Regions from separate parts of the Homo sapiens genome. Here all the other regions are linked to region 3. The links are contacts of gene promoters, found by promoter capture Hi-C in blood cells and fetal thymus (Javierre and others, 2016). All regions are on one chromosome and are shown on one strand. The core of a region is centred on a gene start or on the middle of the fragment in contact, and the rest is flanking DNA. Distances in the headings are between cores, read along the strand shown. Region 1 overlaps GTF3C1 (general transcription factor IIIC subunit 1). Region 2 overlaps KATNIP (katanin interacting protein). Region 3 holds the start of KDM8 (lysine demethylase 8).

Region 1 (3,289 bases), core at 671-3,170, 280 kb after region 3:
CTACTTCTCATGGCCGCTATAAGGTCTAAGCAATACCTTGCATGGGAAAGCACCCAGAATCATGCTTGGCCCTCACCCTCAAAAAACCAAGGTCCATCTCCCCAGCAGACTCCAACACTTGGCCAGCCCATCAGACACCTCAGTGTGCTCCAGCCACACTTCCCACCAGACTCTTAAGCAAACGGGATAACGTAACCGTGTCCCGGAGTGACGGGGCTTCAATGAGGCTTACTTATAGTTGAGATAGGCCTGTGGGTTTTTGACTATGTAGCGAGCTCTTCGTCCAACGGAATGAGATGTTTTATCCAAAGACTCTTCAAACGTGGCATGCAAAATGTCCCGTACCACCTGCCAGGTGACAAATGGGCCCTTCACCTGGATCAAACACAGAGCCAAGACAAAAAGTCAGTATCCTCAGAGACGACATCATGGGGAATTACCATAAAAAAGTGGACAAAATGTGTTTTGTGCAGCCTCCTTCCTCAGAGAATCCCCACAACTGTCACCTCACAATATTTACTGGGCCCACCATGTGCCAGACACTGAGGGAGATTCTGGGCAGACAAGTATAGGACGAGGCCTCAGTGACCAGCGGGAAAGAGTGTATTTTAGCAAGCGCCATGTGTGACAAAGGTGCCCAACGGGGCGGGGGGGAACTGCCTGAAAGGGCGCTGTATTAGAGGGAATCATGGGGATGCAAAGTGTGTTTAGTTAGAGGTCTTAGTGTCCTAATTATGCATCATGTGTGCTCAGAAACGTTCTGTATGTTGTGCTTGTATGTTATGTTAGTAGAAGCAGAATGTACAAAATTAGCAGACCCAGGAGAACATCTTGGTCAATAACACAGGAAGGCAAGGCCGACATGAGAAAGCCGCTTGACGAGTTATTTTCTTACATCCCCAAGGATGAGGTGACCCAAAAAGTCTGTAAGTTCTGGTAAGCGGCGAGAGTCCATCAACACTGACCTATGCAGGACCCTCCTGCCTCCTCCAGCTGCACCAGAGCTGGAGCAGATGGAGGGACGCCCCACTTACCCATCAGCTCTGCAATGACGAAGCCATTGCAGATGCAGGGAACAGAAATTAGGGATGGCAACATGTCACCTTTCAGGTTCTTCCTTGGAAAAGAGGTTGGGATGGAATTCAGGAGAGGACTGAGGGATGAGAGAACAGGGGACAAGCGGTCAAGACAAGGGATCTAATAGTTGGCAGGCAAGGAGCATCTGGGCACAAAGCCCCAGCTGGGTTTCTCCTGCCTGGCCTGGCTGAGACCCGGAGGCACACCCGGGCTCCTCCAAAGCTGCCTTGTGGCACTACTGCCTGGAAGGGGCCCTGGACTGGACTGGCAGAGCTTTTTCCTGGAAGGCAAATAAGAGGTCTCGCTGCCTTGTGGACCAGCCACGCCGGTGAGCCAAGAGGTACCAGAGGTGACAGAAACAGCATGAGAAGTATCCGGCCAAGAACAGAGAATGAGCAGGGTAATTACGCCCAATTGGCAGATCATTCCGGACATGATGGGCAGTTACAGGAAGGTAAATTGGAGCTTTTCAGGCAATGAAGGTGGGAGGAAGGAGCAGGCCAGGGTTAGACTACTGGTGAGGAGAGAGAAAGAACAGCTCTGAACTAGTTTGCCTGCAGCTAGGCAAACATTTATATGTATGCAGCTGAAAGCTAAAAAGAAATGTAGAAAAACAGAATGGTATTAATTTGTAGGATTAGCTGGTCATGGCAGGGTGCGCCTGTAGTCCCAGGACTATGAGAGGCTGAGGTGGGATCACTTGAGGCCAGGTTGAGGATGCAGTGAGCTGTGATCGTGCCACTGCACTCCAGACTGGGTGAAAGAGCAAGGCTCCATCTTTCTAAAAAAGAAAATGTGTAGGATTCTGGGCAATGCTTTTCCCAGTGGCGAAGCAGAGCAGCTGAGAGGAGTGGTCTCTGGCTGGGAGTCCCCGGAAGGCTCAGACAGGAAGGAGCTCCGAGTGAGGGGCAGGCCCACCGCTGGGCTGGGCTGGTTGGTACCTTGGTGTTGAGGACATTGCTGGCAATGCGGCACAGCACAAGCAGCCCATCCTCCTGCATAGACCAGGTGACACGAAGCCGCGTCATCCGCTGCAGGGCACTCTGGTCGGCTTCATCATGGTAGCGCAGCCTTTTGCTTTTTTCTCCTGGGAACTCTCCTAAAAACACCAGAGGGAGAAGGCAGGAGACCTCTAACACCTGGTTTGGAGCTGTCACTCTGCAGAGGGGCAGGTTCCCTACCCAGCCAGTGAGATGTGACTAATGGTATTGGTTAGCAGATACTCATTGTATCTAAAGTCACATAAACTAACTGCAAAAGACCCAGCCCCTTCTGATAGATTTTATTTTTTTTTAAATCCCTTTCATCATTTATCTTGATCAAATTTCACAGCAACAGGTTGGAAGGCTCAATGCAGCCTCTAGTTGGTTATCTGCCAATCTCCAATCTCCCCCACTGTGACAGAGTCCTTTGAAGGCATCTTGTACAGAAGCCTACAGTGCGTGCTCGGGGCGTACCCACCGAGTGAGCAGGACCAGGGACTGTGCAGTCACCAGGCCCCCACGCTCCCTTGCTCTGTGACCACACGGGCGTTGTGTAGACTTGAGTGCATCTGGGGACAATAAGGCCTCTGCTCCAGGGCCATGGAGAGGGTGGAAGGAGACTGCATATAAAACATCCAGCACACAGTGGTGGCTACTAAATAACTAACATCAGCAGTGAGATCGGTGTAGTTAATAACTAAACAGCACCACCACCACCAAAACAGCAGTCTAGCATCAGGGAATATTCATTGTGTGCCTAGCACTGGTTTATGCTTTTTCAACATATTATCTTATAATTAGAATACTACTTTATAGCAACCTTATGAAATGGATACAATTGTTATCACTGTTTTTTGTTGAGGAACACAGAGACATACAGTGACTTGCTGAAGTCACACAGCTGAGTCAGCAACAGAGGGAGGATCTGAACCTTGAGAGCGTAGCCACAGGGCTGCCAAGGTCTCCTGCCCAGGGGAGGTACTGATAGCACCTTCACAGGACAGACACCATATGCCACTGCCAATCTCAAAAGACTGTTTAGCGAGTGTCTTCCAAATTAAGGCAGAAGAAAAGTGGGGAAAGGAAATTTGGACTCGAAGTGACACCACCACATTTTGCATTGTGATGAATTCAGGTTTTTAAGCCAAATTGGTCTTACACATATCTACGACAGGCGAAACTGAGGGGGCCATTTCAACTGATGGAATGCTATTTGTTATGAACGCCAG
Region 2 (3,362 bases), core at 109-2,608, 350 kb after region 3:
TTGGTGATTTGTCTGTTTCTCTTACTACTTAAACCCAGCAAAAAAAATAATAAAATAACAATCAAATGCAATAAAACAAAGCAAGCATTCAGCAGGTGAAATAAACATACATCCCATAGACTCTTTGTGTCTGTTCTGTTTTCTTCTTGTTCCAATCCTTCTATCTGATTAGTTTCTTTTCTCTCAGATTTTTTCAGAGTTCGTTCCTCCTGTCACTTTAACTTATAGGAAGTCGGCCCATAATGTTTTGCTTATTTTTCCTTATGAGATTCATTCCATGATTCAACATTTCAGTGCCTTCCGTGCATTGGAATTCAGAGATGCCAAAATGAGTAAGATTGAATCCAGGTGAAGGCGATATGGGAATTCATTGTACTATTCTTGACATTTTTCTGTGAAGTTGATTTTTTTTTTTTTTTTTGAGGTGGAGTCTCACTTTGTAGCCCAGGCTGGAGTACAGTGGCGCGATCTTGGCTTACTGCATCCTCCGCCTCCCGAGTTCCAGTGATTCTGCTGCCTCAGCCTCCTGGGTAGCTGGGATTACAGGCACATGCCACCACGCCCAACTAATTTTTGCATTTTTAGTACAGACGGGGTTTCACCATGTTGCCCAGGCTGGTCTCGAACTCCTGACCTTAGGTGATCCAACCCTACCCCTTGGCCTCCTAAAGTGCTACGGTTACAGGTGTGGATTTTTTTTTTTTTTTTTTTGAGACAGAGTCTTGCTCTGTTGCCCAGGCTGGAGTGCAATGGTGAGATAACTCACTGGTGCGTCCATCTCCTGGCTCAAGCGATCGTCCCATGTCAGCTGTCCAAGTAGCTGGGACTACAGGTGTGTGCCACCATGCCCAGCTAATTTTTTATTTTTTGTGGAGATGGGGGTCTTGCTATGTTGTCCAGGCTGGTCTCCATCTCCTGAGCTCAAGTGATCCTCCCACCTTGGCCTCCCAAGTTGCTAAGATTACAGGCATGAGCCACTATGCCTGGCTGGAAATGAATTCTTTATATCAGAGCTTGCACAAGTGGGCTGAAACAGCCCACATGCATGTTTATTTGGCTCATAATGTTTTGTTTTTTAAATTTTTGAATTAGTTGTCAACATTGAAAAATGAGCAGATTTCTTATAAATACCTGATTGTGGTATTTTCTTGAAAATATCAATAAAGTCTGTTAACACCAAATCAGAATTCTGCATGGCAACAATTGTCCCACCACCCGAGTTAAGTGGAGACTTTGCCCTTTAAGAGGGAGGTGGGCCTGTCTAATGACTGGCTTCTCTCATTGTGTCTGTCACTCCTAGGCCTGTCAGCATTTGTACTTAGAATTCTACTTTAGTATTAACTTGTACAGTTGTGAAAACTCCTGTGGACTTCCTTGTATGCCATACTGGACTATACTTATTCTTTTTGTTTGTTTTTTTGTTTTTAGATAGAGTCTTGTTCTCTCACCCAGGCTGGAGTGCAGTGGTGCGATCTCAGCTCACTACAGCCTCTGCCTCCTGGGTTCCAGTGATTCTCCTGCCTCAGCCTCCTAAGTAGCTGGGATTACAGGTGTGTGCCACCACACCTGGCTAATTTTTGTATTTTTAGTAGGGATGGGGTTTCATATGTTGGCCAGGCTGGTTTCGAACTCCTGACCTCAAGTGATCTGCCTGCCTTGGCCTCCCAAAATGCTGGGATTACAGGCATGAGTCACCATGCCCAGTTTCTTTTTGTTTTAATCTGAAAAAAAGGGAATATATTATCTGCCTTTAGAAACTTCATAGTATGGTGAGAAAGCAGACATAAACAGATGACTACATTTCAACATGGGAGTCCTTAGAAGATAATATTTGTAGAGGTCTTCCCCTTTCCCAAAGCAGTGTGGCCCACTGCCTGCTATTGTAAATAAAGTTTTATTGGAATGCAGCAGCACCCTTTCACATACATATAGTCCATGGCTGTTTTCTTGCAGAGTTGAGTAGTTGTAAAAGAGACTTATGTGGCCCACGGGCCAAAAATATTTACTATCTGGGCCTGTACAGGAAACGTTTGCTGACTGTTGCCGTGGCAGATCTGATTTGATTCCTGAGACAGCTCAATGGGATACTGTGATTGTGTCTGTTTTATACCACACACCTAGTAGGTAGCAGAGCCAGGACTCAGTCGAATAAGGTCTACACTTGGTAGTATGTTATGGAAGGCCCATTTCAGCCTTGTTACTGCCAGTGTGTGGCCAGGTTCTCACACCTGGAGAGTGAGTCTGTGGGGAAGAACTGGCCACTGGGCTGATGGAATAATATACATTTTGAAAGGTACCCGTTTTGACTACATTCCCAGCTCCCTCAGCATCTGGTCCCATGACTGCTTCTCTCTTTCCAAATGGGAGTAGGCTAATGCAGAGCAATGTGGTTGGTTGCAAGGAAGAACTTGAAACTGTTTGCAGAGCACTTTATGTAAAAGTAAGAAAGTGTGACTACTGATGTCCCATGGGGCTTTGCAGCTTTAACAATTGCCCTATGGATCATATCACCTTGAAGTATAGAATTTCTCTGGGGAATTAGCTCCCCTCCAGTCTCATCTTTTTAGACACTTGCCTACCTGCTCTCACACCCAGAGGTTTTACACTGCGCTGTACAGTGTCTATCAATATGTTTTTCCATATTCAAAAATAGTGATTTCAGGCCAGGCATGGTGGCTCATGCCTGTAGTCCTAGCACTTTGGGAGGCTGAGGCAGGAGGATCAGTTGAGCCCAGGAGTTTGAGATCAGCCTGGGCAACACGGTGAGACCCCACCTCTACAAAAAATTGTTAAAAATTATTTGGGCATGTTGACACATGCCTGTGGTTTCAGCTACTCGGGAGGCTGAGGTGGGATCACCTTAGCCCAGGAGGTTGAGACTACAGTGAGCTGTGATCATGCCACTGCACTCTAGCCTGGGCAACAGAGCAAGACCCTGTCTCAAAAAAAAAAAAAAAATAGTAAGGTCATGGTGGCTCATACCTATAATCTCAGCACTTTGGGAGGCCGAGGCAGGCGGATCACTTGAGGTCAGAAGTTTGAGAACAGCCTGGCCAACATGGTGAAACCCCGTCTCTAGTAAAAATACAGAAATTAGCCAGGCATGGTGGCACCTGCCTATAATCCCAGCTTCCTGGGAGACTGAGGTGGGAGAATCATTTGAATCCAGGAGGCAAAGGTTGCAGTGAGCCTAGATCGCGCCACTGCACACCAGCCTGGGCGACAGAGCGAGACTCTGTATAAAAAAAATAAATAAATAAAAAATCCAGGTGTGGTGGCTCACGCCTGCAATCCCAACACTTTGGGAGACTGAGGCGGGCAGATCACGAGGTCAGGAGTTCAAGACTAGCCTGGCCAACATG
Region 3 (3,253 bases), core at 508-3,007:
GGCCTCCCAAAGTGCTGGGATTACAGGTGTGAGCCACCACGCCTGGCCAGGAGGGACTATTATAACAGGGGAAGGGAGACTTGCAAAAGAGAGTACACTGTGGCCACAAGGGTTAGGCCAAAAAGAGCTTTTCTTTCATAGGAAGAAGAAAACAAGGCTAGAAAGAACCTGGAAGTGGGGTGAAAGGGTGACATGATGGGTTAGTAGATCAGAGAATATATCAACCTGAGGCCAGCCTATTCTGAGGAGGGGCTGTCTGCTGGCCCAGGCCCAGGGTGAGCCAAAGTTCAGGGGCCTGGAGGAAGGAAAGAATCTTAACCAAAGTGGTTGACCAGCGTTTTATAAGGATTGATTAGTGGGACAAGCAGTTCAGGTAATCACTTATAAGACAATGAATGAGAATTGGAGGGTCTGTGTCCTGTTTACCTGCTCTCACAGGTAAACAATGGGGGTGGTGTCTTGGAGTCTTATCTAAATTCTCTTGTGGGGGTGGGGGGTGATTCTTTGCAGTAAACTTTTTTCCACAACACAAAAGGGTGAGAGCAATTCCTTTTTACTTTTTTCCGGGGACACAAGACTCAGGGAAAATTCAACATTGTCACTACTCAAGGGTGGAAACTTAGTGTAGCACATAACCATGAGGATTCTAAACCTGTGGCTGCTGAGTTCAAACACCAGCATCCCAGTGAGCCTGGTGGGTTAGGAGATCTTTCTGTGCTTTACTTGCTCCCTCCCTGATATGGTTTGGCTGTGTCCCCACCCAAATCTCATCTTGAATTGTAGCTCCCATAATTCCGTGTTGCGGAAGGGCCCAGTAGGAGATAACTGAATGATAGGGGAGGTTCCCCTCATACTGTTCTCCTGGTAGTGAATATGACTCATGAGATCTGATGGTTTTATAAGCGGTTTCCCTTTTCACTTGGTTCTCATTATCTCGTCTTCCACCATGTAAAACGTGCCTTTCACCTTCCACCATGATTTTGAGGCCTCCCCAGCCATGTGGAACTGTGAATCCATTAAACCTTTTTGTTTGTAAATTGCCCAGTCTCGGGTATGTCTTTATCAGCAGCATGAAAGCGGACTAATACACTCCCTAAAATGGGGATGAGCATGATCATTACAATAGCTACGATCCTCATATTTTTAAAGTATTTTAGCACCGTACCTAGAATCCACTAATCTATGAACTGATCCTGAGCAAGCCTGTTTCCTACTCAGACCCCAAGCTCAGTACGAACATAACTTTCCATGCCTCTGTGCAATGCTGCAAAAGGCGTGCATACTTGGAGTCCACAGGAGTGTGTGCTCAAAACACAAAAGTCCCAGTGACCACGCACCACTCGGCATCAAAGCAAAGGTGGCAGGAGTGTGTCCCCTGGCCACTTGCCTTCTCACTCGAACAGACTGTGGATGCAGCACTTGCTCGTGGGTAATTGTGGATCTGACTTTCCAAAAGTACAAGTATGTGGCCACTTTAATCACTGAGCCTCAGTTTCGCTCTCTGTAAAATAGGGAGAACTAATAATCCTAGCTGCAGAGATTAAATGGTGGATGCAAACAGCCTTGTACGAAGTTGTTATCTGTGCAGAGGAAAAAGCGGTATCACTAGCGTGGAAGGACCCAGAGGATACAGCCAAGCCTTTCTGTCTTCTCCATCCCCCGGCCTTTTAAACAGCAGTGGGGCGGGGCCACGGCATCGATCACTCGGCGCTCCTCCAGGCACTGCGTCGTGATCAGACGAGCGGTGAGCGATCGATACTCCTATGCTAGCCTCTGGCTCCTCAGGGGACACAGCCGAGTGGTCGGACCAAACGCAACGAGTCTTCGCCAGCCCAAAGGCGACTCGACACCGTCCCAGCTGAAGAGAGGTTAGTCTGAGCAACTCGAGAGCGGAGTCAGCTCCAGTTCCTCAGAAGTGGAGAGGCCGGGTTCAGAGGCATAGACCGCGCAGGCGTCATGTGAAGCAGCCAAGCCCGGCCTCGCGCGTGCGCCTTGGAAAACCCCGAGGGTGGCTCGAGTTGCCGCATGCGCTCTGAGAATGCAATTTAGCTCGTCGCCGGCCTGCCCTGCGGGAGGATAAAGGGAAAGGTTCCGCGCGTGCGTATGCTCGTCTCTTGGCAGTGGTTTTGCGCATGCGTGAGGGCAGGCCCTTACGGCGGGCTGCTGTGCGCTTTAGCGGTTCTTGGCGTCGCGTTGGTGTAGGCCTAGTGCGCCTGCGCGGGTTTTATACTCTGCTATATGTGTGTCCGCTGCTTTTAGGCAACCAGCCGCTGCCCCTGGGCCGCAAGGCAGGCTGGAAACGATTCCGCCGTCAGGTCCCAAATATGAGCCGCGAGAAATGCAGCCCCGGGGAAGGCGCTGAGGAGGGAAGGGGGTCTGAGGCCTCGGGGCTCAAGGCCAGTGCGGGGTACGGGGGACCCTCTGGGGCCTGGGTGTGTGACTGCCCTAAGGAAAGGTGCTTGTAGCTCGGTAGGACTTAACGATGGGCATCGGTGCGTTTCCCGGCAACGGTAGGAATCGCCGTGCTCAGGAGGACTCGGGAGCAAGCCCGGGGACAGGAGGTGCGCAGGCGTTGGGGCCACACGGACGACCCAAACACAAGACTGTGTGCCCCTTAGAGAGCCAAAGGGATCCCTGTGCCATGAATTAAAGCTTTCTGGAAAATGTTCCAAACTTTCCTGGGAAGTTTTACGAAGCTCTTGTTTTTGCACAATTTTTGTGGAATACTGCCATAATAACATTGAGGAGATTAGAGAACTGGACCGCCTGTTCCCAGAAAGCTAGGTGTAGGCTGATCTGTCCTGGAAGCCCCTTTTGGGAGGCTTTCTCATGACCAGCATGGTGCTTGCAGAGTGCCCACCCTGAGACCCTCTGCAAATCACAGTGAGGCTCTCGGAGAGGCCATTCCACCCAGCCACCTTAAAGAATACTCAGGGAGGTGCTTTAGAGGAGTTGATGTTTAAAAATAATTTAAGGCTGGGCGCGGTGCCTCACACCTGTAATCCCAGCCCTTTGGGAGGCCGAGACAGGCCGATCACTTCAGGTCAGGAGTTCACAAGACCAGCCTGACCAACATGGCGCAACCCCGTCTCTACTAAAAATAAAAAATTAGCTGAGTGTGGTGGTGCACATCTGTAATCACAGCTGCTTGGGCGGCTGAGGCAGGAGAATTGCTTGAACCTGGGAAGCGGAGGTTGCAGTGAGCCAAGATTGGGCCAGTGCACTCCAGCCTGGGTGACAGAGCGAGACTCCG

Evidence for each region. Contacts are between HindIII fragments. The CHiCAGO score rates a contact against its expected background, and 5 or more counts as called.
Region 1: a fragment that was not itself captured here is called in contact with the fragment with the promoter of KDM8 in region 3 in 2 of 17 cell types (activated CD4 T cells and total CD8 T cells); the score reaches 5.3 in activated CD4 T cells.
Region 2: a contact is called between a fragment that was not itself captured here and the fragment with the promoter of KDM8 in region 3, in 1 of 17 cell types (monocytes). The highest score is 5.2, in monocytes.

What each region holds. Positions count from the first base shown.
Region 1 is chr16:27,483,979-27,487,267 of GRCh38, forward strand. GTF3C1 (general transcription factor IIIC subunit 1) reads right to left here. Exons shown (of 37, transcript NM_001520.4): 24 at 2,019-2,176; 25 at 233-375. Among named protein-coding and RNA genes, the nearest start is that of IL21R-AS1, 32 kb to the left of the region's middle. The HindIII fragment of the contact is 9,490 bases long and covers 1-3,289 here.
Region 2 is chr16:27,556,739-27,560,100 of GRCh38, forward strand. The region is part of intron 1 of KATNIP (katanin interacting protein); the gene reads left to right. Among named protein-coding and RNA genes, the nearest start is that of KATNIP, 8.3 kb to the left of the region's middle. The HindIII fragment of the contact is 5,731 bases long and covers 1-3,362 here.
Region 3 is chr16:27,201,769-27,205,021 of GRCh38, forward strand. It overlaps KDM8 (lysine demethylase 8), which reads left to right and starts at 1,758. Exons shown (of 8, transcript NM_024773.3): 1 at 1,758-1,868. RefSeq lists an enhancer at 1,803-1,962. The HindIII fragment of the contact is 9,655 bases long and covers 1-2,650 here.